Regions from separate parts of the Homo sapiens genome. Here region 1 is linked to region 2. The links are contacts of gene promoters, found by promoter capture Hi-C in blood cells and fetal thymus (Javierre and others, 2016). All regions are on one chromosome and are shown on one strand. Each heading gives the region's core, a stretch centred on a gene start or on the middle of the fragment in contact. The rest is flanking DNA. Distances are from core to core; before and after follow the strand shown. Region 1 overlaps HEATR4 (HEAT repeat containing 4). Region 2 holds the start of PNMA1 (PNMA family member 1).

What was found. Contacts are between HindIII fragments. The CHiCAGO score rates a contact against its expected background, and 5 or more counts as called.
Region 1: a contact is called between a fragment that was not itself captured here and the fragment with the promoter of PNMA1 in region 2, in 4 of 17 cell types (M0 macrophages, M1 macrophages, M2 macrophages and 1 more). The highest score is 8.4, in M0 macrophages.

Annotation. Positions count from the first base shown.
Region 1 is chr14:73,508,108-73,511,268 of GRCh38, forward strand. It overlaps HEATR4 (HEAT repeat containing 4), which reads right to left. Exons shown (of 18, transcript NM_001220484.1): 8 at 1,205-1,366; 9 at 27-187. It also overlaps a transcript of ACOT1 not described here. Among named protein-coding and RNA genes, the nearest start is that of RIOX1, 19 kb to the left of the region's middle. The HindIII fragment of the contact is 5,736 bases long and covers 1-3,161 here.
Region 2 is chr14:73,712,756-73,715,633 of GRCh38, forward strand. It overlaps PNMA1 (PNMA family member 1), which reads right to left and starts at 1,629. Exons shown (of 1, transcript NM_006029.5): 1 at 1-1,629. The coding sequence starts at 884. It overlaps MIDEAS (mitotic deacetylase associated SANT domain protein), which reads right to left. Exons shown (of 13, transcript NM_001367710.1): 13 at 2,367-2,878. RefSeq lists enhancers at 1,025-1,084, 2,025-2,094 and silencers at 1,175-1,344, 1,525-1,804. The HindIII fragment of the contact is 4,676 bases long and covers 1-2,878 here.

The sequences.
Region 1 (3,161 bases), core at 662-3,161, 200 kb before region 2:
TGTCTGACCCGGTAATGGACACATACTGTCTTCTCACTCAGATAGCTCAGGAGGATATAAGACTGTTCCTCAGTGTCCTCATTCTTCTTTGTAAACAGCTGGTGGAGGATCCTCTTAATCACAGGGTAAGTAGCAGTACCTTCCAGAGCCAAGCACTGAGCTGCAGCCCAGCTATCCACACTGTTACCTGCCACAGTTGGGTGAAAAAGAGTTCAGAATGGTGATGTGTTTTCCCCCTAGAGAACAGCCTTTGGATTGATACCCAAGGCTGCTACCCCACCTGATATCTCACTTCCTTGTGCCCCACTCAGTCTAGAAATACAATTTCTTATTTAAACCATATTGAGAAGAATCATATTGGCTGGGCACGGTGGCTAACACCTGTAGTCCTCACATTTTGGGAGGCCAAGGTGGGCGGATCACCTAAGGTCAGGAGTTCAAGACCAGCCTGGCCAACATGGTAAAACCCCATCTCTACTAAAAATACAAAAATCAGCCAGGCGTGGTGGCATGCGCCTGTAATCCCAGCTACTTGGGAAGCCGAGGCAGGAGAATTGCTTGAACCCAGGAGGCGGAGGTTGCAGTGTGAGCTGAGATCCCACCATTGCACTCCAGCCTGGGCAACGAGAGTGAAACTCTGTCTCAAAAAAAAAAAAAAAAAAAAAAAAAATTTAGTCCAGCTACCACTTGGTGGCAGTGTACCTGTTTTGTTAAAGTACCTAGAAAGAGCAAATTTTCTTTTTTTCCTTTTTTTTAGAGACAGGGTCTTGCTCTGTCACCCAGGTTGGAGTACAGTGGCACCATTGTGGCTTATTGCAGCTTCAACCCCCTGGGCTCAAGCTGACTCTGATAAGCATGTATATATAGGTCTGCCTCAGCCTCCTAGGTAGCTGGGTCTACAGGAGCACACCACCGCACCTGGCTAATTTTAAAATTTTTTATAGAGATGGGGTCTTGTTATGTTGCCCAGGCTGGTTTAGAACTCCTATGCTCAGGTGATCCTGTCGCCTTGGCCTCCCAAAGTGCTGGGATTACAGGTGTGAGCGACAGTGTCTGGTCCTAATTTTCAAATGGTCTAACATAAATCTAAACCCAATACAGCAGACATTGCAGAGCATCACAGTGGAGAGGAAAGGACTGGGAAAGCTGATAGTGAGATGTCTATCCCATATTTCCAGGTCAGAAGTAACAGGGAGTTACTCACCCTTCAGAAGGGCAGTCTGCATGATGTTCCGGGCAAGGGGATTATGTGACTGTATGGCATATTGGCATATTGCTGCTGCCATCCGCACATGGGCATTCTTGTCACAAAGAGCAGCCTCTAGGGCAGGCAGTAGAACCTCCGGCAAGTCCTGGATGGTCTTGTCTGTGATCAAAAGAGCCAGGTAAGAGAGTACTAGCCCCTTTGCTTTTCTCACACACAGCTTCCTTCCTACAGCCATGTGGTGGCCAACCTCAGTCCCAGCTGCAGTTGCTTAGTGCTATGTAATATAATTACAGTTTAGCTGAGCCCTTCAGATGGGCAGGATTTTCTGCTCAAGGTGTTAAAGCTCACCTGTGTGCTGGTATGCCAATTCCCAATCCTTTATCATCTGGCCTCTAAACAGCTATATTTAAGCCGAAGAAGAATGTTTCCAGCTAGGCTACAGTGAACTACACCATTAGTTTTAGTGATTAAAAGCAACCAATTTGCCCCATGAGCCCATATATATATATATATATATATATATATATATATATATATATATATATATATATATATTTATTTATTTTATATATTTTTTGAGACGGAGTCTTGTTCTGTCACCTGGGCTGGAGTGCAGTGGTGTGATCTCAGCTCACTGCAAGCTCCGCCTCCTGGGTTCACACCATTCTCCTGCCTCAGCCTCCCGAGTAGCTGGGACTACAGGCACCCAGCTAATTTTTAGTATTCTTAGTAGAGATGGGATTTCACCGTGTTAGCCAGGATGGTCTCGATCTCCTGACCTTGTGATCCACCTGCCTCAGCCTCCCAAAGTGCTGGGATTACAGACGTGTGCCACCGCCCCCAGCTGAGCCTTTATATTTGTAAGAACAATTATATTTAGGTAGTGCTTTATAATATAGTGTTTTTACATTATCTTGTTATCTTTCAACCTTGGTTGAATTAGGCAAGGTAGGTATCATTGTAGAGCTCACTAGGGAGTCTTTTTTGGTTCAACTAAACAGTAAGGTTCATAAGACTGTCATGGGCCATGCATGGCACCAGAAGAATATGGGACAGGAGCATAGTTTGTCAACAGGGCAGCAGCATCAGGCATCCCTGTTGGCTGGAGTTTTTTTGTTTTTGTTTTTGTTTTTTTTTTGAGATAGAGTTTTTGCTCTGTTGCCCAGGCTGGAGTACAATGGCACAATCTTGGCTCACTGCAACTTCTGCTTCCTGGGTTCAGGCGATTCTTCTGCCTCAGCCTTCCGAGTATCTGGGACTACAGGCACCTGTCACCACGCCTGGCTAATTTTTGTATTTTTGGTAGAGATGAGGTTTCACCATGTTGGCCAGGCTGGTCTTGAACCCTTGACTTCAGGTGATCCACCTGCCTTGGCCTTCCAAAGTGCTGGAATTACAAGTGTGAGCCACCACACCTGGCTTTGGCTGCAGTTCTTGAGGCTGTCTTGAGCATTCCACAGAGTCTTGGGGACAGCACAGGAGCATGTTGTTTATTCACTGGGTGAATTTATGCTTTACAGGAACTAATATCTCTTATAAAAACTCCATAGACACAATTCTAGGGTCCACAAAGGGCCTGCCTGTTATAAGTTACAGTATCCAGGGAGGCCCAAACTATGGTGTCCCTATCAAGTATTTATATTTCACTTATAGCTCTTCTCAGTCCCAATGTAATTTATCAAACAGGATTTATATCATAACCAATGTTGCCTATAAAGATAGTTCTTATCAGGTGTTTAGGGGAACAGGTGGGCATTTAACTGAAGTTCAAATTCTCAAGTAGGAAGGGGAAAGGTTTGTTATCCCTTTGTCTACCACTAGTCTCATTTTATAGATAGGTAATTTGAAGCTCAGAGAGGTTAGCTGACTGCCCAAGGAGTGGCACAGCTAAGCCCGTGAATCATATTTTAAGATTTTGTCAGGTGCGGTGGCTCATGCCTGTAATCCCAGCACT
Region 2 (2,878 bases), core at 379-2,878:
ATGACCTGCTCTAGGCGGGCCTGGTTCACATTATCTTTATCAATGGCCCCCTTCTCTACCACCTTCTGTAGCAGAGGCTCCAGACGAATGACATAAGCAGACAATTTTTCTCCCGGGTTCTGATAAGTGTTCAGAAATTTGATCTGGGCATCCCTAGAGCTCTCAACGCTCCCAAACACCTGCTCAAGCGCCTTCAGGCATTCGGCAGTGGTTATCGCGGGGTTGTTGGACTTAAGGATGCGAATAACATCAGCGGCGGGGCCTCTAAGACTCTCCATCAACCGCCGCCTCTTTTCTACATCGGACACCTGCCACTCCTCTAGGACCTCATTAGTGTGCTCCAGCCAGGGATCAAAGGTTTCCTCTCCAGGCCCTGGGATGTCCCTCCCCGAGAAAAGTGTCAGCCTCTTGTACCATATGGACTCAACAAGAGGCTGAATAACATTATCCAAAATATAGTTTAGCATCTCTGCTGGCATCTCTGGGCCCGGGGTCGGAGTAGGGTTCTGAAACCCAAGGACACGGGCAACATCTTGCACGGTCCACCCCTCTCTAGCTAGGAAGAGGTGCAATCTTTCTAAAAATTCAGCATCAGAAGTTGGGGGCTTAAATAACACTTTCCAGACCCCTCCTTTGCCCGGCATCTCCCTGGGGATCGCGGCGTAATCTACAGCGCCAGTGAGCTCTAATAAGGCTGCTTTCGCATTTTCTTCCCTCCAGAACATTCTCCCAAGCATTCGGTAGGAGACCTGGGGCATCGCAGCCTGGAGGGTCTCTTCGATTTCAGCCTCATCACAGTTCACTGGGATGCCCCAGACTAACAGAGCTCTCTGGGAGTTCACATCCATCCCCCGGCACCAGTCTTCCAACAGTGTCATCGCCATTTTCTCAACTATCAAGACGCCAAATTCTACCAACAGACTGTGGCTCACCGTGCTCCTGGCCTTAGAACAATACCAGACACTCCCACCAAGTAGGCCCGAGGGAGGCGACCTTCATGCAGTCACGATTAACAAAGACAGAGTCCTGATCTCGCCCTTCTCTGCCCCCACAGTCAGTCCGTAGGTGCACTCGGAGCCGAGCTCGGGGACGCTGAGGCAGTCACGCGGCCGTCGCCATCTTGCGTCTGGGTCTGGGTCCGGTCGGGTCCGCCGCCTGCAGCAGGGGCGTCGCGTCGTCGTGCAGCGGGCGAGGAGCGACGGCGGGCGGCGAAGGCAGGCGCGCTGGGCCGAGAGCCGCCGGGGTGTGGTCGCGGGGCGTGGCCGCCGGGCGCTCGCTGCGGCTCCTGGAGAGGATCGGGCGTTCGCGGTCGCAGCCTGGTCTTCCCGCGGGCGAGGAGCGGCCGTTTGGGAGACTAGCCAGAGGGAGAAACTGTGCCGAAGTCGCGGCGGCTGCGGGCCAGCGGAAAGCGGCTTCTTGGCGGGCGCGGGGACTCCTCTGGGCGGGCGGCGAGGACGGCCGAGGACCAGAAACGAAGGCAGCAGAGGAGCAGGAAAGTCGGAGAAGCGAGGCTGGAGACAGCAGAGGCGAGGGTGGGAAGGGGCGGCCGCGGCGGCCCGCAGCGGTTCAGGCGCTGCGCGGCTGCTCTGGCGTCCAGTCCTACCCGCAACCCGCCGCGACGTTACTGCTGCAGTGGAGGATGGGGCCAGCCGGCGAGCGGCGTCCGCCCCGCCCCGCCCCGTCCCGCCCCCGCGGCGGAGCTGCTCGGGCGTCTCCATGGCAACGGTGTCCCAGCCGGCGCGAGGCACGCCTGCTCCGGCGGCTCGCGGGGGTCGAGCGGTTGCCGTGGAGCCAGCGAGGGGCTCGGGCATTTGTTTCTCTGATGGCGCATTTCCTTTTTCATAATTTAGCATTTTAACAGTAAACAACTACTACTAAGCACCGTGTTTTAAAAATAATAACCCAATCCTGGAGTGGATTTAAGATGATATTGTTGGAAATGCATCCCTCATGGTGGACTTGTCTACTCGGGTTGCTCAGCCAGTCCACCCTGCACGTGAAAATACTCTCCTCAGAACCCTGGCTTCCCGTTGCCCCTGACCACACTGTGCACCCTGCATATTTCATCCCAATGAAGCCAAAATGTCGGAGTGCGCCATTTCTGTGTATTTGTGTGAGACACTGAGTTTAGACTTTTTCTTGTCTAAAATTTTGTAAAAATCTGTCTGTGTCTACTGAGTCATCTTTTAGCCAGGCAAACATTAGTGTATTATTTTCCTTTTCCTGGCTGGCATCATTGACAATAGGCTGCTAAAAGAGAATCCTTATGGTTCAAAAATGTCGAGTAATCTCCCTGCAAGCAAGACAAGGCGCACTTACATCAACCCCAGATGGTGAAAATCCCAAGAGAACAAAGCATTCAACTCTGAATTTTTAAAACCTTATTTAATAAAAGGTTTAAAGATACAGAAGAACATTCAAAAGTAAATAAGTTACATAGGTACATTACAATCACATCAGCAAGATTCTTTAGTGTATTAATTTTTTTCTTATAAAAAGCACACAAAAAATAAAATCTTCAGTCTCTATCACAACTGTACAGCAAAAGAGGTAATATTTATATATGTACACTATTTTAATATGTAACAGTCTTTTTAAAAAAGGATGCCACAGGCAGCAAACACACAAAAGGCAGTGTCTGATCATTTTTGTTTCAAAATAAAAGGAATATACTTATTTATATGCTATTAAAATATCTGTACAATAATTACAGACTGTCAAGGCTGTTCCTGTGCTCTGTCCCCTCCAACAAAGCCTTCAACTTAGAGACAAATGAGGAAAAAGTGAAACAGCTGCAAATTGTTAGAAGCAAATATTAACATAGCAAAATGTGGGGAGGACACAATTGTTTTATAAAAATATCCCTACTTCCTGTAAA